Linked DNA regions of Homo sapiens: all the other regions are linked to region 2. The links are contacts of gene promoters, found by promoter capture Hi-C in blood cells and fetal thymus (Javierre and others, 2016). All regions are on one chromosome and are shown on one strand. The core of a region is centred on a gene start or on the middle of the fragment in contact, and the rest is flanking DNA. Distances in the headings are between cores, read along the strand shown.

What was found. Contacts are between HindIII fragments. The CHiCAGO score rates a contact against its expected background, and 5 or more counts as called.
Region 1: a contact is called between a fragment that was not itself captured here and the fragment with the promoter of HOXB5 in region 2, in 11 of 17 cell types (total B cells, M1 macrophages, M2 macrophages and 8 more). The highest score is 8.2, in total B cells.
Region 3: a fragment that was not itself captured here is called in contact with the fragment with the promoter of HOXB5 in region 2 in 14 of 17 cell types (non-activated CD4 T cells, activated CD4 T cells, fetal thymus and 11 more); the score reaches 14.9 in non-activated CD4 T cells.
Region 4: a fragment that was not itself captured here is called in contact with the fragment with the promoter of HOXB5 in region 2 in 14 of 17 cell types (megakaryocytes, erythroblasts, endothelial precursors and 11 more); the score reaches 14.4 in megakaryocytes.
Region 5: a fragment that was not itself captured here is called in contact with the fragment with the promoter of HOXB5 in region 2 in 4 of 17 cell types (erythroblasts, endothelial precursors, total CD8 T cells and 1 more); the score reaches 6.9 in erythroblasts.
Region 6: a fragment that was not itself captured here is called in contact with the fragment with the promoter of HOXB5 in region 2 in 6 of 17 cell types (total CD8 T cells, total CD4 T cells, megakaryocytes and 3 more); the score reaches 7.3 in total CD8 T cells.

Annotation. Positions count from the first base shown.
Region 1 is chr17:48,298,449-48,301,864 of GRCh38, reverse strand. The region is part of intron 4 of SKAP1 (src kinase associated phosphoprotein 1); the gene reads left to right. All of the region lies in intron 1 of SKAP1-AS2 (SKAP1 antisense RNA 2), which reads right to left. Among named protein-coding and RNA genes, the nearest start is that of SKAP1-AS2, 5.8 kb to the right of the region's middle. RefSeq lists an enhancer at 1,680-1,769. The HindIII fragment of the contact is 9,512 bases long and covers 1-3,416 here.
Region 2 is chr17:48,592,529-48,595,850 of GRCh38, reverse strand. HOXB5 (homeobox B5) reads left to right here and starts at 2,072. Exons shown (of 2, transcript NM_002147.4): 1 at 2,072-2,730. The coding sequence starts at 2,169. All of the region lies in intron 1 of HOXB-AS3 (HOXB cluster antisense RNA 3), which reads right to left. HOXB6 (homeobox B6) reads left to right here. Exons shown (of 4, transcript NM_018952.5): 4 at 1-100. RefSeq lists enhancers at 1-86, 1,129-1,634, 1,864-1,933, 1,635-2,142 and a silencer at 2,399-2,448. The HindIII fragment of the contact is 5,828 bases long and covers 1-2,716 here.
Region 3 is chr17:48,315,754-48,319,169 of GRCh38, reverse strand. All of the region lies in intron 4 of SKAP1 (src kinase associated phosphoprotein 1), which reads left to right. Among named protein-coding and RNA genes, the nearest start is that of SKAP1-AS2, 23 kb to the right of the region's middle. The HindIII fragment of the contact is 4,284 bases long and covers 1-3,416 here.
Region 4 is chr17:48,258,054-48,261,626 of GRCh38, reverse strand. The region is part of intron 4 of SKAP1 (src kinase associated phosphoprotein 1); the gene reads left to right. Among named protein-coding and RNA genes, the nearest start is that of SKAP1-AS2, 35 kb to the left of the region's middle. The HindIII fragment of the contact is 743 bases long and covers 1,680-2,422 here.
Region 5 is chr17:48,241,824-48,245,282 of GRCh38, reverse strand. The region is part of intron 4 of SKAP1 (src kinase associated phosphoprotein 1); the gene reads left to right. Among named protein-coding and RNA genes, the nearest start is that of SKAP1-AS2, 51 kb to the left of the region's middle. The HindIII fragment of the contact is 2,422 bases long and covers 743-3,164 here.
Region 6 is chr17:48,279,664-48,282,901 of GRCh38, reverse strand. All of the region lies in intron 4 of SKAP1 (src kinase associated phosphoprotein 1), which reads left to right. Among named protein-coding and RNA genes, the nearest start is that of SKAP1-AS2, 13 kb to the left of the region's middle. The HindIII fragment of the contact is 3,099 bases long and covers 1-2,825 here.

The DNA.
Region 1 (3,416 bases), core at 305-2,804, 290 kb after region 2:
GCACTGAGACTACTGCAAGGTTCCTAACATGGTGGAAGAAAATCAGGAGCCAGGGGACCATAAGGAAGGTCTAAGAAATGTAGATTCAGACTGGGTGCGGTAGCTCACGCCTGTAATCCCAGCACTTTGGGAGGCCAAGGTGGGCGGATCAGCTGAGGTCAGGAGTTCAAGACCACCCTGGCCAATGTGGTGAAACCCCATGTCTATTAAAACTGCAAAAATTAGCTGGGCATGGTGGTGGGTGCCTGTAATCCCAGCTACTTGGGAGGCTGAAGTAGAAGAATTGCTGGGTTCAAGCAATTCTTGAACCCAGGAGACGGAGGTTGCAGTGAGCCGAGATCACGCCACTGCACTCCAGCCTGGGTGACAGAGCGAGACTCCATCTCAAAAAAGAAAGAAAGAAAGAAATCTAGATTCAATTCAAATACTCATGGAGTCTCTACCATGTGCAATGCATAATGCTAGGTGCTGAAGGAATATAAAGATAGGTAATTGGGAATCTCCCTGAAAATTTATAATTTGTTGGATATTGGGCTGATGGGAAGGGTTGGTGGGAATAGAGAGGAAACAAAACAAGAAGATCTTTGCTCATCTTCCAAGGAGCAGTTTCAGTAGTCTACTAAAAACAAGCCTAGTTATTAGTGATCTTAGAGTGAGTGAGTACTCAGAAACTAGAGGCTGTGGGTATATGTTACCTAAAAAAAGTTGTTTGGTGAAAAGAATGAAAGGGATAAATGGTAGGAGGAGAGAGGAGCTTTTTGGTTATTTTGTTTTAGTTTTAGGAGAGGGGAGATCTGAGCTGATTTTCCAGCATATGAGAAAGAACCAGTCTAAAAGAGAAGATAATGGGTAGAATCAGGTCCTGGAAAGGTAGAAATGGGTCAGTCAATACTATACAAGAATCAGTCCTGGCTAACAGGCAGGGGACTCATTCCTTAGAGAAAGGAGTTAAAGGATAGAAGAGAATGAAGATACGGAGATATTTTTACTTGAAGGGAGGAGAAGGCAAAGCCATTTACTAAGAGTAAAAAGCCATGGAGCAGGGACTGGCCTAGAGCTTAGGGAGACTGGAAAGTGGAAGTTTAAGGCAGCCATTAAAGAGATGTGACAGGATTAAGAGAAAACACATTATTGTTAAGCAGTAATTAATATATACAGTGAGAACCATCTCAATCTATTCAACAAACATTAATCATTAAATAGAGAATTCATGGAGGAGCAAAATGCTAAAAGATTCTGATCCACTTCATTTTTAGGCTCACCCCTCATCACTCTCTCTTGGTATAATATGTGGTTAATAAATATAATATAGCCTCCAGACCATGGAAAATCACATGCAATCTCACACTGAGCTGTCTATCCCTTTGACACCAGGACCCAGTCCTGAAGAAGTATCACATTCACAGAAGCACAACAAAAGTAGGAATTTCTGTCCTCAAAAATACCTGTAGCCCATTTTACAAGGCAACTTCTCCTCCTTTTTCAAAATCCCCAGAACTCCCTGGAGCCTCTCACTCTCCTGTCCCAGAACTCTCTCACAGTCCCATGCCATTCTGCCCTGTCTCTCTTAATCCTTGAAGATATGGGGTGGAGACTGCTTCTTTGCTCCCTGTCTTCTACTGTCAACCTAAGTATCTTATTCTCCACATTCTCCCCATGCTGCATCACAAGGCCAAAACACTTGACTGAGAATGGCAGAGCCCTCCTTGGATGATGGTGAGCCTGGGAAGGACCTGAACTAGTGAAGCCAGAAACTCTTGAGCACACAGGGGAAATAATAAGCTAGGAACACTCATAGTTAAAAACAGTTTTCTCATAACACTGCAGCTTCATGACCTACACTTATTTTGAAGAGGATTTGAAACCATGACCTGAAATACTGAGCCTACCTTTCATCTTACCTCCTACATGTGAAACTCATGCCCCAAACCCCAGCCTCACAGGATTATTCATCATCATTCCGCAAACCCAGCCCTGTGCCTTCCACCTGGAGTGCCTTTCCCATCCTCCCATCCACCCACTCATCCTTCCAGGCCATGCTCAAACTCCCTCTTCTCTAGCTGGCTTCCTAGTTGCCCCAGGTTGGACTCAACCCCTTCCTGTCTTGCATTTTACTTGATCAGTTATCATAGCTGTTGCCTACCACCATTTACCTGCATTGTATTACATACACTGGCATCTCCAAAGGATTGTGGGCTGTCAGCACATATTAGACATTCAATAAATGTTTGTCAGATTGATCCCCTAAAATGTGATTGTATGATCCAGATTTTCAAATCACACACACACACACATACATATATATTCTGTCATATCCTAAAGAACTTTCAAAGAACCTTGAAATAATAGTAGTCTCCTGTTCTATACTGTGTCTTAATGTGCCACAGAGTGACAGCCTCCCCCTCTTCCCCCTTCAATGATATCTGGAGGTTTTCCTCCCTTAGACATCAGAAATACTGAAGGATGGAAAACACTATACCAGATAGATCCAAGATAAATGTTTACTTCCTTCAGTAGTCTAGCTTATGAGTATAAAGCCAAATGCTGGACAGTACATTGACACCACAAAGACAAAACGAAATAGACAGGAACTTTAGAAAAGGTAAAGGAGGCAGCCAATAAGGGCATGCTCCATTGTGTATGTTACAACTCAGGGAAGAGAAAATGGCAGCAAAACCAAATCTACATAAGAGTTTATATCCCTTTCACTACTGAAATATGGTTTATGCTGAAATGCCAACATTCTGTGATCACCCACATGAAATGAAAATGCTCATATTTATATGGTGCTTTTCGTCTAGAGAATCCCAAGGTGCTTTATAAATTATAAATACGAATGTTCCTTATGCAATGTCCCTGATATTCTCCATACACAAAATCCAGTTTCTGATGGTCAAAATTTCCCCCACGCCTGCCATACCACTGAATATTAAACATTTTTATCAGATCACAATTTTTTATCTTTACAAAAATCCACTGTATTAAAAGGTCTACAGTTTACACTATTTGTCTTCTAACATATGCTGCATCCCTCCTACCCACTTCCCTTCCCCCACTAACATGGAAAGTGAATTCAATTAGATTTAAGAAAAAGAGTAATTGCACTGGAAAATAGAAAAAATATCTCATCCCATAGTGATTAAGCTCTTTACCTTATAGAAGGAGTTTAACTCTTTCATGAAAACAGGATCTCATGAAATAAATGAATACAGGGATTTGCTAAATCAAAACATAGTGTCTTGAAGCGAATTACGTAGTCATCAGGGAGCTTTTTGCTCCAAGGGAATAGTGTACTACTCAGTGTAAGATGCATAAGAAATATAAAATAAAGTCTAAAACAGTTAAGAGTTTTTAATTTTTGTCTTTTAACTATTCTTATTTTATAGTCAGTATCTCAAAATCTGAAACTTATTCTA
Region 2 (3,322 bases), core at 823-3,322:
TCTGGACGTGAAATACTTCGATGATGATGATGATGATGATGATGATAATAATAATAATAATAACAACAACAACAACAATAATAAAGATGTGAAAACTCGACGCTCGGTCACCTCCAATCCTCCCCTGCCATTTTTTCCTCTCTCCTCAACCCCCAGCCTCTCCATCTTTCCTGAGCCAGAATTCTTCAGCAAAGGCGAGAGCCCTGGCCCGCCGAAGCGAGCCCTGTTCGACTGGGAAGTTACAGCTGAGATAAAGGCTGGAGCGATCAGTCCTGCCCAGGCCCCAGCGCTGCGTTTCCCTGGTGCTGAGGCTCACAGCCGCTTCTCCCCGTGCAGACTTGGGGGATGGAGAGGTGCTGTGTCCCTCTCATTCTCTAGCCTTTCCTCGTGTATACACAGCACTAAGGGAGCCACTGAGGCCCCTAAAGCTCTCTGGCGGAGACGGAGCCATAGTCTGGGGGCCTCTGCAGCGCTTTTCTGTCCTCACCTTCGCAGCGACCCCTGGTCTTTGGCCCGTCCACATGGCCAGGTTTTTTCGCCAGCCTTGGCCCTCCGCTCCTGGCCTGTGGCTCTGGAGACTGAAAAATGGGGCCACTGGGTATCTCTCACCCTGCAGCTGAAGGCTCCAGGTGCCCCTTCCCACCTCAAGTAGCAGATCAGCCTCAAGTAGGAGATCAGCCTCAAGTAGGGGAATGTAAAGCCACCAGCCAGGCACAGGCCGAAGGCCACAACTTTCCCTTGCTCCTTGGAGACCCCAGGGCAGGAGGCCAGGTGATGGGGCTTTTAGTGTCATCCTCTCAACCCAGAATGGCTCATTCTCTCTCTGCTTGCACCGGCACCCAGAAGGCAAGCTGCGGTCACTGTTTTCCTTTATTCCTCCGCCCTCTCGCTTCCTTTCTTATTTTTAAAGAAAATAGTCCCCTCCTAATAGGAGACCAGCTGCGGCGGTCTCTGGCCGCCCAGCGTGCTCAGCAAAGCATGCGGGTCCTTGGAACCCCTTTTCCGGGAAGGCGGCTGCCACCAGGCAAATTCTCAAACTGCCTAGCTGCGAGTGAGGGACCTGTAGTGGGGCCTCCGAATGCAATAGCCGAGGAGGAGGGGAAGGGATCCCGCTTTACAAACTCTCAGACACATGTTACTACTCAAACTAAGCAGCAGACGCGGTGGCCGCTGCAGTCTTTTCGGCAACTAGGCCGCTTAGCCCCAGCTGTGCTCGGTTTCTGGGGTCCCTGTCCTGCTCTGTCACTCCCCACGCCTGGGCTAAGGACCACCAAGGAGGTCCGGAAGGGGATTTCGAACTTCCAAGTGGCCCAGGAGAAGTGAACGCTTCTCCTTCTTTTTCAAGCCTCCCGCCCAGCCCTGCCGGCTCGGCCTGGGCGCTGTGGACCGGTAACAGCAGTTCCACCAGGATGCAGGCCGGACTAAGCTCCTGGGGAAAACCCGTTGCAATAATTGTTTTTCACACACAACTTCCAACCCTTCCCCCATTTCCGCCTCCAATTCGGAGACTTGCAAAGCCCAAGAAAGGGAAAAGCAACTCTATCTTTGATCTTCTCATCCAAAGTTAAAATAATAACGACAATGATGATGTAGGGAGAAAGAACCAAATAGAGAGGCTAACCCCACCCACAAGAAAGTGGGTAAAAAGCCCAACCCCTGCTCTAAAAGGCTCAACCCTGTGGCTGAGCCTTGGCCGGGTTTCTTTCTCTCCCGGCGACTGCAGGGAGCCTGCAGGGAGCCAGCAGGGAGGCAGCCGCCCGCCGCCATGGCGGTCTCACGCCCGCGCTCCCGTCGGTCGCCGGGAGGTGGCGCGCTCTGCTCAGAGGCCAAAGCCAACCTTCTCTCTGTTTCTCCCCCTTCTCCTTTTTTCCCCCTCTCTCGGAGGCTCGCATTGAATCGGCCCTAACGATTCTCGGATCGTCATTATTTGTAACCATAGAGCATGAATTACCTCTTGAGGTCATCAGCGAGAATTTACGACTGGTCAACAAAAGCACGTGATTCCCTAACGCCCCCCACCCCCCTTCCAACCCCCCCCCCATATTTGGCCGCATACATAGCAAAACGAAGTACAGTGCATCGCTATAATTCATTAATACATCATAAATCGTGAAGCACAGGGTTATAACGACCACGATCCACAAATCAAGCCCTCCAAAATCACCCAAATGAGCTCGTACTTTGTAAACTCCTTCTCGGGGCGTTATCCAAATGGCCCGGACTATCAGTTGCTAAATTATGGCAGTGGCAGCTCTCTGAGCGGCTCTTACAGGGATCCCGCTGCCATGCACACCGGCTCTTACGGCTACAATTACAATGGGATGGACCTCAGCGTCAACCGCTCCTCGGCCTCCTCCAGCCACTTTGGGGCGGTGGGCGAGAGCTCGCGCGCCTTCCCCGCGCCCGCCCAGGAGCCCCGCTTCAGGCAAGCGGCTTCGAGCTGCTCCCTGTCCTCGCCCGAGTCCCTGCCCTGCACCAACGGCGACAGCCACGGCGCCAAGCCCTCTGCTTCGTCCCCCTCCGACCAGGCGACCTCAGCCAGCTCCAGCGCCAATTTCACCGAAATAGACGAGGCCAGCGCGTCCTCGGAGCCTGAGGAAGCGGCAAGCCAGCTAAGCAGCCCCAGCCTAGCTCGGGCGCAGCCAGAGCCCATGGCCACCTCCACAGCCGCGCCCGAGGGGCAGACTCCGCAAATATTCCCCTGGATGAGGAAGCTTCACATCAGCCATGGTAATTCTCTCTCTCTTTTTTGTCTTCTCGGCTTTCCTTCTCTGCGTTTTGGGGTGGGATCGGGGGGACAAGGAGAGCTTGGCTTTACCCTAAATATAGATTCATTTTTCTAAGGGGGAGAAGTATCTAAGAGGGGCCTCATAGCTTCGTAGACAGAGCCAAAAAGGGTCTCTCTGTTAAGAGGGGGGTATTTTTAATAATTTGTTTCCAGCTTCGGCTTAGGTTTTTATTAGCGCAGCTGAACCAGCTTTAGGATAAAGGATGGGGTTCATATAATGTGGGGAAGGGTCCTGCTTACCCCTGAAATTTTGAGACTGTCGCTAGCAAAGAAGGGGTGAACAGTAAAAGGAGCTTTCCGGGGCAAAAGTGCAACCGCTCTCCTCCCTCCCGGGGCGAGCGGCCGCCTGAGCCCAGCCAAGGGTGAGGCACTAGGAGCGAGCAAGAGACAAAGCCGGGCGCACTGGCTGCCTGCAGAAGTGGGGGATGCAGTAGAAAGGGGTGCAGAAATCGAGCTTGAATGTGGGCATCTGGAGTAGAGAGGATTGGAGCTGTGGTGAGCTGGGTGCCGGGACGCCTGGGTCCTGCTCCCCCG
Region 3 (3,416 bases), core at 143-2,642, 280 kb after region 2:
TAGGGGACTAGAAACAACTGAGATCCAGCTCCAGTTTCATACTCCTGATCAATTCCTTTTGCCATTCCAGTCTATTTCTTCTGTTTTGTTCACTCTCTCAGAAAACCATCCTCATAAAGCCCAAAACCTCATGTATTCAAAAGTTATTCTTACTGTTATGTGTACTTCTTTAAAGGTTCATTTCTCCTTTTTGTTTCCACTTCAAGAAGGTTATTTACATTAAGTTGGGAATTCTCGAGCCTTTGAATAAACTGAAGCTAATAATAGAAATATTAATTTTTAAGAAAGCAAATATTGTTTTTCCCTGAAGCAAGGTCTTGCTCTGTCTTGCCCAGGCTAAACAGTGGTGCAATCATGACTCACTGCAGCCTCAACCTCCCATGCTCCAAGCGATCCTCCCACCTCAGCCTCCAGACTAGCTGGGACTATAGGCACATGCCATGCCTGGCTAATTTTTAATTTTTTTTGTAGAAATGAAGTCTCACTATGTTGCCCAGGCTGGTCTTGAACTCCTGGCCTCAAGCAGTCTTCCTGCCGTGGCCTCCCAAAGTGCTGGAATTACAGATGTGAGCCACCATGCCCAGTCACAGAAAGCAAAGATTTTTAAAAGGACAGTTACAAATACAAATACAACCATTTGTATTATCCCTACATTATTCCAAACACATGAGAGCCTAATTGTGACGGTGATGACAGCAAATTGTGTAAGTAGCTTAGTGTGTCAGAAAAGCCAAGTGAATGAAAATATCAGTCTTGATGTAATTATAAGTGGGACCTCTTAAGTGGGCCACCCAGCGTGAAATCAAAGTGAGCCAGCCTCCTGCTTTGGGTATAAGATAATTGCCCTCTGAGGTCAAAAAGAAATGATGTTCTTGATATAGTATTGCACCATTAGGTGTATTATTGAATTTGGGTTGGTGAGAGTAGAGCTTTTCTCTGAAACATCTGTTTGCTGTCAGGGCAGCATGGCAAAAGGGATGGACCAGTGGTCTGTTTCAACATGGCAATTCTTGCAAAAGAATGTAGAAATATGAATGTCTTCCTAGGGGCTTATGGGCTTATGAATTATGGTGCTTTACATGAAATCTAAAAATCAGTGGTATTGTTCATGTGTCATAATGAAAGTTTATTTGCGCTTTTCTGGTGTCATTAAGTCTTTTTACAGTATTACACTTTCTAAATCTTTTCATTTTATTGATACTTCTGTTTTGCATTATTTTTCTCTCATACCTGTTGATTGCATTTTTTTCTTGATTTAACTCCATTTTATTTTATTCTTGAAGTACTTCAGTTTCTACCTCTACCCTTTGATTGCTTCTCTGTTTTTGCTGATTTTTGTATGATGCCTTCTAACTTAATGTCTCATGAGAGTTTAATATTTGTTCTAGTTTCAGCCATTGATAAGCATAAAACACATATCCATCCTGAAAAACTCAACTAGATTCTTATTTGAATTATTTCAGACCTCGAAGTGACCTGAAGTTACTTCAGTTCCTTTTGTTTACAGATAAAGATACTAAGATGTAGAAATGTTAAGCAACTTGCCTATTATCATTTGTTTTCAAGTTTTATTTAACTTTTGGTACATGAAAATTATTCATATCCAAGTATATTTATTTCAAAAGGAAATTTTTATGAACATTTTATATGACCAGCTTACTGGTCTAAGTATAGAATTATGCTTTGCTAGTCCAAACCTTTGAGCACTTTCATTTCTTCATCTTTAAAATTGTTCCTATTACATAACTTGATTTCTTAATTTAATTCAATTTTTAAAACGTTTAATGCCATGTTTGTGATAGTTCTACTTCTGTTTGGGAATTGACCCCTAAAAAAGAAATGAAGGTCAACTGATCATCATTTAAGTTTAGTCTTTATTTTATGTTCGTCTTTTTTATATCAACATTGAGATACTTTTTTTCCTCAATTATCATACAAGGGATTGGTGATTTTTCATAGGTTTATTTCCATTGGGAGTCCCTTCTCTTCATTCAGCCTTGTCAACAGATGAATGCCCATGAACATCCGTCTGAGCATAGAGTCAAGGATCATCATTCAGTATGGCTCGGAGAGGCTGGCACTTTTCGCTCCTGCATGAGCATCTGGGCCTCAGATTGTCATGGCCAGGATGTGACTGTCAGCCCTGCCCATGATCCAGGGGCTGGATACCTGCCACATGTTGGATGTGATAAGGGAGAAGATGAAGGATCAGATTGGGATTTTTTTCCACAAAGGCTACTAGGGGAGATAAGATCTGTATGAAATAAGAATGGTATAAAAGAAATAGTGATAGATACCATAAGGCAGATATGGTTTCAGTGTTATGCAAGTTGGGGAAAGAGAGAGCTGATTTTTAGCAGTCTGATCAATAGCTCATCTTAGCGTGGTGGTCTCTGTCATGTGAACATTCTTTTGAGGTTCATATTCAAATGAACATTAGGTGGAATGTCTGCCAATTGCTTTGACTATTCTTCATCTATTCATTTATCATTGAGGACCTACTATGTGCACGACCTTAGACTAGTACTGGGGACACAGAGACGAAGTTGACAAAACCCTTAGCCACATAGAGCTCATATTTTACTGGGGCCGATATGTTATATAATGTCAAGCCATGGTAAATGGTCTGAAACTAAACACAACAAAAAAGACTGAAAGGCAGAGAGAGAATGACTAAAAAGGGTGACAGTAGATCTCTTTGAGAACAGGGTGATCAGAGGAGGCCTCTGAGCAGAAAACTGAATGAAATGAGAGATCAAGCCATGGGTTGATCTAAGGGACGAGCATTCCAGACACAGGGAATAGCAGATGCAAAGGCTCTGAGGTAGAACCCATCTTTGAGTGTCTTCAGGGAATAATCAAGAAACTTATGTGGCTAGAGCCACACCTGTGTGGCTAGAGTGAGACAGAGTGTTAGGAAATGAGATTGAAGAGACAGAAAGGACTAAGTCACTGAAGCCATAGTAAGATATTTGGATTTTATTTTGCATATCATGGGAAGCAACTAGTGAGTTTTAAGCAACAGACTGGCATAATATAACTTACATTTCTAAAAGAATTCTCTAACTATTCTTTGTAGAATTGATTTTAAGGGGGATAGGAGTGGAAGAGGGGAGAGACTAGGGTGAGGTATACTGGATGATCCATAGGCGATGGGAGGAAAATATTAGCATATATGTATATACAGGTTGAGTATCCCTTATCCCAAATGCTTGGGACCAGATGGGTTTTGGATTTCAGATTTTGGAATATTTCCATATACCTAAAGAAATATCTTGGGGATGGGATCCAAGTCTAAACATGAAATCCATTTATGTTTCATATATGCTTTATATGCATAGTCTGAAGGTAACTTTATACAAGATTTTAAATAATTTTGTACATAAAACAAAGTTTGTGTTAAGTACTTATGAGTA
Region 4 (3,573 bases), core at 802-3,301, 330 kb after region 2:
TTCCCCCATGACTCTGATCACTGCTACCAGGCCTGAGTTATGCTTCCTGCTGCTTACATTTAAAAGGTCACCAGGACAATGACTAGGTGACCGCCCATCACACAGTCTGTGAGTACATCCTCCAATAGCATCCTCAGCGTAAAACGCCCCCTACTGCTTCCAGGATGCCAGTTCACTAATAATTCTCAGGCCTTACTCCTAGCAACCAAACTAACCCTGTAGCTCCCAAGGATTCCTGCGTATATAAGGAGAGGGTAAAGGTTGGTGCCACATTTCTTTTTAAGGCTTTATAAGGCTCTATTCAGAGTGAGTCACAGGCATGTCACTCTTCTGTTGTTCACCAAAGCATAGATTCTTTACTGTCCACAGCATTAAAGCATGGCGTATTTTGAGAGATGGTTTTAAGTCATCCTTTCAACTAATTCAGATAAACATCCTTGCAGAGCATGGCATCAGAAATTTTCCAAAAATTGTCAAGGACTGACCCCTGCCCTCCTAGGACTTGCAGACTTAGGGGTCGTTCAGATCCAAACACAACTATAATAATTCTAATTCTAAAATGTGATAATTGCTATAATAGAAGTTTTTTTAAATACTGCAGGAGAGGGAGTGATTAAATTCACATCAGGGATTCCGAACAGCATTTTAGAGTATCTGGATTTTGAGGTGAATCTTAAAAGATGAACAGAAGAAGAATGTTCCAGGCAGGGGAACAGTAGTACTAAGAACGTGGCATTTGTTTTCACCAGGTTTCTTGCATCCCTTGACCACTTGGTTGCCTTTGTTGTTAAACTGTGTGTGTGTGGTTAACCAATTAAGGAAAGGAGAAAAGCTGATTCGAGATAGTCATGGTGTGAAAAAGCTTTGATCTGGACGTTTACCTTGATTTCTTTTCACGTGGTGATTCCGATATAAATAATGTCATTAACTTCCTTTTTTTCCATCTTACAACACATTTACCTGTTTCTTTCCATGTATATTGATACACACACACACCCCTCCAGTGTTTATTCTTGGGCATTTTCCAGTTTCTAATATGATGTCCACGAGTCAAATCAATTAAATTGAACCGATAATACAACTTAATGACCCTTCTTATCTTTGCAAGTAAACTTGAGAATGGAATGAATCTAAATGCCAACTCATTAACCTTGAAAGACAATTCAGGTGGTTTTATTCTAATGTTTCTAGTGTTTGTTTATAGTTGAGCACACTTTAAATATGTCTACATTGTTTAATAGCCTCTTGTACACAATTTTTTGATGGACTCAATTGATATTCTTCATTAAAGACCAGATCCTAATAAACTCATCTCCCTTACTCTTAAATTCACATTCAAACAGGAGATTTCTTAATGGCTTCTTAAAATGCTAAGTTACTAGTTTTAAATTTATGTATTTCATGCTGCTAGCCTCGGAGTTTCTTGTCCACATCAAATTCCTAATTATTTCTTTTAGATTTGTGGGAAACAATTGTCCAACACTTCTCTCTTTTCATTTTTTTCTAATTTTGTCATCCATGCTGCTCACTTTTCATGCTATGGTTGTCTTCATTAAGAGATTGGTGGGATTTTGGTCCCTAAAGACAAATAATTTATTAGCTCTTAATGGTGATCTGGAAGGTTACATTTCAGGAAATTATTTATTTTAGTATGTTTTTAACTTGTTTTTAAGGAAGCTTCCTCCTCCTTTTACATTTCCAACTGAGAAGGGCCATCCAGAAATGTCTCCACTGCCACCTACTTGCAGTTTGGAAATTTACATGCACCTGGCTTTTCAAATAAAGCTGACCTTTTTTCCTGCCAAGGCAAGATTACTGTCAAGAAAACTGTAGGTGGCATTGTGGATTCTCCTCATGTTTTTAAAGGCATGGGTTTTGTGAAGTTGCTAGAAAAACACCTACGTTATAGGATTTTTACTAACATTCGTAGCAACAGCTTTTTCTGTAAATGTATGTCTTCTTCTATGATAATTGTATTGCTGCAAATTATGTAGGTAACAGTCTAAGTGAAAATATCATTCCTAAATGCTTTATTCATATTTATATTCGAATTACATTGCTATAGTCATAATCCTTAATAATTTCTTATAAAGCACATTATATAATGCATTCATGATTACGCTATGGAAAGCTGTTACCTAACACATTGTAAAAGGCAGACATTTTAAAAAACAATGTATGTTCCTATTTAATACAGAGAGATGAGTTATCAGACACTGTGTGTATTTGTAATTTCATAAATAATAATAAGGTATGCATAAATGGCTCTTTAATACCCAATGTTATTATGTAGAGAAGAAAGTGAACTATTCTAATATAATAATAGATATGAGAATTTTGAATTATTTTTTCTTCTTATCGTAACAGTGACCACTCTTTGCCTAATGATTTCATTTTATTGCGAATCCTCTGCTTGAAAGCTTAAAGATTTGACATTGTTCTGCACTTTTAAAATATAGGTTATTCTGAAAATCCTAGCTTGAGTCATTTTTGCAGCATGTACTGTAGAGTCCCCCATTTTAAAAAATTACGGACATTCAAGCATCTGCCTAAAATTTTAATTGTTACCCAAACATCATCTACCTCATTTTTCTCAATTTTCATACAATATAACTAGACTCAATTTTAAGTATAGTTTGGAAAGTATTAATCATTCTGAATCTGATAAATTATTTGGATCACATTGTAGGTACAGGTACCTACATATGAAAACATGATTAGTGATGAGAAATATTTTATTCTTTCTCATGAATGCAGAGTTAGGAGTTCAGAGTACAGGCCTGGTCCTTCTCCAGAACCATTCAGTACTATCTAATTTCCCATCTATACAGTTTGTCCCTAAGTGACATTTTAAAAGCAGCTGTAACTTTATGGTTTTTTATGTTCAGTGACTGTAGAATGCTTGTCTGAAGTAAAACAAGTCTTTGCTGTGTGTTCCATAGCTGGTACACAAGCAGTATTATGTTTGTACTTTTAAACAACTTCTAATGTAATCTGATTTCATTTGTATGCTACACACCCTTTTTAAGATTTTTTAAAATCTCATCTAGAGAAACTGCAAGTCATTTAAGTTTCCTTAACGGCACCAGTAATGTATATAAATCTTGTTAACATGCAGTGCATTACAGAGTGGAGTGGCATTAAAACTCTTGTTGCACAGTCATGCTTTAAGGAAGGCTTCCAGATCCTGAGATAAACTGTGTGCTTGGTGAATCCACTTCATTTGAAAGTGACTAGAATATAATTTGTCTTATAAGGACAATCTTTTCACATAATATAGAAACCAGGTGAGTTCTTGTTAAGCATATGGAAATCTGCACACACATGAAATAAAGTTTTATATTTTGTATCTTCTCTGTTAAATGCAATAGAAGAACATTTTGGACTTTGTGGGAGACTTAATTTATGGATGTCATTCAGGTGAACAGAGATCTTTGAAATTTCAGTATCAAAAGCACCATCAGAGGACTGTCCTTTTGGGAATACTGACAATTTGCTACCTAAGAGCATCACTTTAACTGGCCTCGAATCCTGACTTTTTTTTGTTGTAGGATGATAAAGCACTAGTGTGTC
Region 5 (3,459 bases), core at 704-3,203, 350 kb after region 2:
TTGTGGGTTGTGTTTTAGAAAGACTACAGTCATTTTTGGTTGTAATCTTATATCCCAGAAATTCAAGAGGGGCAGCTGCTCCAGCCAAGTCAAGGAGGAAGATACCTACTATTTTCCAGGTTCCTACCATTTTAGATTCTATAATTTTGGAGCTGCCAGCAGTACTTCAGGCAGATGGTTTCCCAAGTGTAAAACTGTTCCCCAGGAAGGAAAGAGAGTCAGGTTACTCCTTCCTCATGAGCCAAAATTCTGAAAGTAAAGGGGTGTGTTCTTTCTCTAACCTTTGGCCTAAGCATGACTTTGTATTGAGTTACTACTCCTAGAAATCTTCTGTTTTCATTTTCTACGATTATGGTCCAGGTTTTAGACTCAGGAACAAATGGCAAGCATCCATGCATCATTTGGAGGTTCTAGAAGAAAGAATGAAAGCCCATGACACTATTCAGCTCTTTTATTTTGTTTGGATGTAAATATAAGTTTTAACTAATTATTTGACTCATTTTCCCTGTGAACGCATCTTCTTTTAAGTGGATCTCCATGCTTTTTGCTAGGCAGTTTGGTCATTTCTTAGTCTGGCCAAACCCTTTCTTTGAGGTTTCCAAGCTTCCTTTGGAATATTATAACTGTGTATCATCAGCAGAATTTTCAGTTTTCTTTCCCCCAACTATTTGTTAATGTTTGCTGAAAGGAACCTTTAACAGGAAGTAAACTTGCTTGGCATGGCCCAGCTGTGAGTGAAGCTTGAGTGAGAGGTATTTATGACCTGACAGGAAGATAAAGATAAAGATAAAGATGAAGCTGACTTGGTGGCTGTTAGCAAGGGGAGAAGGAAATGTTTATGACCCCATCTGCTGGCGTTTCAATAGGATAGAACTGCCTTTATGGCGTCAATCTCCCCTGTGACTTCCTTCCATTTGGGGAGTGTTATCTTATTTCAAGATGTTCCCACCGAACACACTGTTGTCCCCTTTGTTTAGGGGCAAAGGAGGAAGGAAGGACTTTGTTACTGGAATGTGGGGATGGGGCAGTATTTATGGTTATGACTCAAGCTGGAGAAAAGGCTTCATTGGAGTTGACTGTATAGTCCAGGAAAGCTGCCATGCATTCTGCTACTTCCTTAAACATTATCCACACTGAAAGCAGAACCACATTAGCTCTGGTCATTATCAGGCATTAAGGCTAACCATTTTCTAACATTATTATAAGTAGAATTAGTGTAGCTTGATTTCATTGCACACTGTGGGGAAAATAATTTTATTCTCTTAGTTCCTTGTTTCTTGTCTTTTATTTAACATCTCTTCTTTTTCTTCTCCTGAACTTTTTTCTTTCTTTTTCTTAGAGGAGGAGACATTTAAAACCAACAGGTGCCATATCTGCTTAGTTCAAAATCTATGTACATGTAACAAAAGCAGAATGAAATGATTCCTTTCTTAATGCTAGCCCAGGTTAAGAGTCTGCAGATAGGTTGATAGTCCTTTGTGAGGTAATACATTTTTAAAGTGCCAAAAATGTAGGAATATTTTTAGAATACAATAGCTTATGCATCACTGAAGCCTGTTTTATATATATATTAATAGCATTCATTGTACTGCAAAACAAGTACTTATTCCTCGGTTTTATTTGCGCTTCCTCCAGGCCCATTAGTACAGATTAAATTTTTTATATTGATGCTCAAACAATCAGCACAATATATGTAAATCAGGGACTTTAAGTTCTTTGGCACTATTCGTATGGATATATGTTACCATGTTCAACATGGCCTTTTTTTCCCCTTTGCAAAAACAGGATTTTGTTCCTTTTTAGTGTGAAGATCCTATTTCCAAAAGATGAACTGTTTGACAAATTACACATGCAAAAAGCTCAAAACCACAAAGAGAACAACTTTCTTATTGCCATTGGGTTTGTCTGATTTATAGAACAAAGGGAAGAAGTTTTGTTTTGGGGGTAAAATACCCAATCATGGGCTTATTATATCTCTTTAAAGTCCTATTTTTATTTTTACTAGGGGAAGTCAGGGAATTTGAAAGGGCAGGGAGGGAGATGGCTTGCTCAAGCATTTTTCACCAGAGAATTCCACAGTAATATTTGTTTTAAATGGGAGAGTCCTGTAGTTAAGTTGAGAAATTAGTTATAATGTTTGTATCTGATTACCTAAAGACTGGAAGGTAATAGTGTGTGACGAGTTACATTTTACATCACAGTCCAGGTATAGTCAATTTGCAAAATGGAAATATTGTGGTGGCAATGTTCCTTCGAAGAGTTAGAGCTATCACAGAAATAAAACTTCATATAAGCATTTATTGTTATAATGCCAAGAGTTGATTCTTGATTTTTACAGAACTTTCTCCAAAAAATATTCTACCATTCCTTTTACAGTACAGGCTCAAGTCTTGGCATATTCAATAGACTAGCCAATCCAATTCTAACCGTTTTTATTCAGTGTGGTTCCTGAGAATAATTTGATAGACCTACTAGGGGAGATCCTATCACACTTACAGTATTCTAAGACCTTCTTTTGCACTACAGGTTATCAAATGGCCTTCCTATTAACAAAGGTTCAAACCACACCATCAAATGGTTCAAACCACATAACCCCTTGTCTTAGGAGTTAAGCTAGCTTCCTAACCCTTCCTTGCAGTGGTTAACTCCACTGAGGAGCTTTCTATCAGCAATAATAGCTTCAAGGTGGGAAATAAAAAATGGAGAGTGTTTAAATTGTTAATGGGTTTCATGTTCTTGTCACTGTTGAGGGTTTGTTCCCTTTTATAAACTCATAGTTTTTGGTTGACATTGCTTTTATGCGAGCCATCAGCCAGTTGGTGATGGTGTTGCTGTGTTAGACCATTACTGCCGGATTGTATTTGCAGTAAAGAAGGAGAATGGAGGCTGTAAATCTGTAACTGGAGATTTAGGGCTCTGTTACTCTGCAGTTTAGGCCCATGTGCTGGGGAGTCCATTCTCCTCCGGCAGAATTATACCCTGAAAACATGCCTTTCTAGGCACACTGATCAACGACGTTCATTCCCTGGGCTACCAAGGCACTTAATACAGCTAATTCAGTTAAAGAAGCCCGAGGGGTGAGGTGGATGAGCCTCTTTCCCTGCTGGAAGCCAGATGCCAGGCAGGTTAGTGATATTGCTTTATCCCTTCCCCCAGGTAAAGCTTCCAGGAGAAGCAGTTACTGCAAACGCAGAGAAAAATAATAAGAAAATGCTTCTAGTGTTGTTGGACTCAGTTCTCCTTCAAGCAGGAAATGCTGTCTTAACTCAACCTCATTAACCCCTTTGATACTAAGCCCATTATCAGGAATATTCAGGAAGCACATTCTTTCAGAATTCAGGATGTGTCAGGAGCCTTGATATCTTGACATCATTGTACAAAACTACCAGCAAAGAATGGAAAGTAAGAGAATAAGTGCTTTTGGGACAGGTAACTAAAAATGGAAAAAACTCCCAGTTT
Region 6 (3,238 bases), core at 27-2,526, 310 kb after region 2:
CATTTTGTAGTTATTGTTCCCTCAGATGGGTGGGTTTGCATTTATCAGAGGAGCACAAAAATGTGCAATTTTCCTTACCAAAAAAAAAGGGCAGTTTCTTTTTTTCTTTTCTTTCTTTTTTTTTTGAGACCAGATCTTGCTCTGTCACTGAGGCAGCAGCAGTGCAGCGAGACGACCTTGGCTCACTGCAACCTTGACCTCCTAGGCTCAAGCAATCCTCTCACCTCAGCCTACTAAGTAGCTGAGACTACAGGCGTACACCACAATGCTTGGCTGACTTTTTACTTTTTCGTAGAGCTGAGGTCCCACTATGTTGCCCAGGCTGGTCTTGAACTCTTGGGCTCAAGCAATCCTCCTGCCTTGGCCTCCCAAAGTGCTGAGATTACAGGCATGAGTCACCTTGCCCAGCCAAAAGCAGTTTCTTAGTTTTGATAGTTATACTGTGGTTATGCAATATGTTAGCTTTGAGGGAACAGGGTGAAGGATAGATGAGAACTCTGTACTATTTTTGCAACTTTTCTGAAAACTTAAAATTATTTCAAAGTACAAAGTTAAAAAAAATAAGGCATTAGTTTGGGTAGAGGTGAGGAATGAATGGAGGAAAATAGAGGAAACAGAATTGGCCATGAGTTGATAATTGTTGAAGCTGGATGATAGCTACAGGAGGTTCATTACATTATTTTCTATACATTTGTACATGTTTAAACTTTTTATAATTTCTTAATCTAATAAAATGAAACAGAAAGGCATAAAAGAAAGTATTAAGTGCAGTTCAACTTTGGGTAAACATAAGAATTTTCCAAATGATATTGTTAGCTGAGACAAACTTATATTATTTTGGGATTTCTGTTTTCTTTACCATTCTTATCGGTGCATGAAGAATCAAGTAAATGCTTGTGTGATTTTTTTAACTGTAGAATATGTACTCTTAGTTACACTTAGCTGTTGTTCTTCAGGTTTTCCTTATTGCTGCAGTACTAAAAATATATGCATTAGATAAACTAGGATTTTTAAAAAGTTGTCTTGCCTGTCCATAAACTAGTAAATATTAATATTTATTTTTTGTCTGTTTTTGTTTTATTGTTTTTCTAAACAATATGAGTATGAGGGCATGCCTAATGGCATATATTTTCTCATTGATTTTATAATAAACTTATACTGTTCCAAAGATAATAAATTATACTAGATCAACACTTATGGGTAAGAGAAGTTTTCAGTGCCATGTTAAAACTTAAGCCATGGATCACTAGATGGTGGCCACAGTGTTAATTTCTTATTTTCTAAACCTCTCCTTTTAAAGATACCTAAATTAGATTTTCCTTACAAGTAAATTCCCTTAATTTGTTTGGAAATATAAAGGTTTTTCTTTAAAGCACAATTTGAAAGCACGCTGCCTCTGCCTGCCAGCCTAAATGAGCAGCATTTGATGTGCGATCAGGCAGTCTCCACTTGGAGAGCATCACAGGCACTAGGAGCAGTGAGAAGAACCCCATCAGGGAGTGCCATGACAATGACAAAGAGCTTCATGGTTTCTTATTGGGCACCAGTAGACTGAAGTGCTTTAAAACTTGAGCTCTGGGCCAGGTGCAGTGACTCACGCCTGTAATTCTAGCACTTTGAGAGGCCGAGGTGGGTGGATCACGAGGTCAGGAGATCAAGACCATCCTGGCCAACATGGTGAAAACCCATCTCTACTAAAATACAAAAAATTAGCCGGGCATGGTGGCATGTGCCTGTAATCCCAGCTACTTGGGAGGCTGAGGCAGGGGTATCGCTTGAACTCAGGAGGCAGAGATTGCAGTGAGCCAAGATCACGCCACTGCACTCCAGCCTGGCAACAGAACAAGACTCCATCTCAAAAAATAAAAAATAAATAAAAATAAAAAAGTAAAAAAACCTGAGCTCTGGGTTTAGACTGCCTAAGTCTGAGTACAGGTTCTGCCTTGAGTGTTTATAACAGCTTTATTCACTGAAACTGAAAAGAACCCAAGTATCCATCAACTGGTGAGTAGATAAACAAATTGTGTTTCTATTCAGCAATAAAAAGGGATAAACTACTGATACACACAACTACATGGATGAATCTTAAAGGTTTTATGCTAATTAAAGAAAGCCAGACATAAAATATTAGATACTATATGATTTCATGTATTTGACATCCCTAAAAAGTCAAAGCTATAGACACAAAAATAGATCAATGATTGGCAAGGCCAGTGATAGAAAGAGTGGATTGACTACAAAGGGGCAAAAAGGAGCTTTTCAGAGTGATGGAAATATTCTATATCTTGATTTGGTAGTGGTTATACAACTACTATATATATATGTATATATTTGTCAAAATTCATTAAACTGTACATTTAAAAAGAATTGTGTTTTTTGTGTGTCATTTTTTGTTGTTGTTTTTTGTTTGTTTTTGAGACAGAGTCTCACTCTGTCACCCAGGCTGGAGTGCAGCCTGTCATCCAGGCTGGAGTGCAGATCTCGGCTCACTGCAACCTCTGCCTCCCAGGTTCAAGTGATTCTCCTGCCTCAGCCTCCCAAGTAGCTGGAATTACAGGCGCCCACCACCACAGCCAGCTGATTTTTGTATTTTTAGTAGAGACGGCGTTTCACCATGTTGTACCATGCTGGTCTCAAACTCCTGACCTCAGGTGAATCCTCCCACCTCTGCCTCCCAAAATGCTGAGATTCCAGGCATGAGCCATAGCGCCTGGCCAAGAATTGTATTTTATGTAAATTATATCTCAATAAAGTATTTAAAACCAAACATACAAAATATGTTTTCCAGAACTCTTTTTGATTTGTCTAGTTTCCATAAACAAGCTTATTATTATTGCTTTAGATCATTTTTCTTTCTAGAACCAAGCAATATATGAGTTCTTTCCATGAGAAATAAGTATATTTTCTTCTCTGTCTGCTCTCTTCTGATAAAACTGTATGACAACAGGGCCCCAGGGAATGAAGATAGCAAAGGGACCTTGGGTTAAATGCTGGCCTTAGGAGACAAGCTCTTAGAAGGAACTGTGAGCACAGGAAAGAAGGATTTAGGGAAAATGGAAGCTGGCCCAGGCTACGAAGAGAGAAAGACCCAAGAACAGAGTGTTGGTGGGCCATAGGAATGGAGGAGATGGATGAGATGACCCCGTTGGGGAAAGGGAAGCTAAGAGAGTGGAATGAAATATACTTCTTTAGGTAACACAGCCCTCGAATTAACATGTTTACACATTCATGACACCCA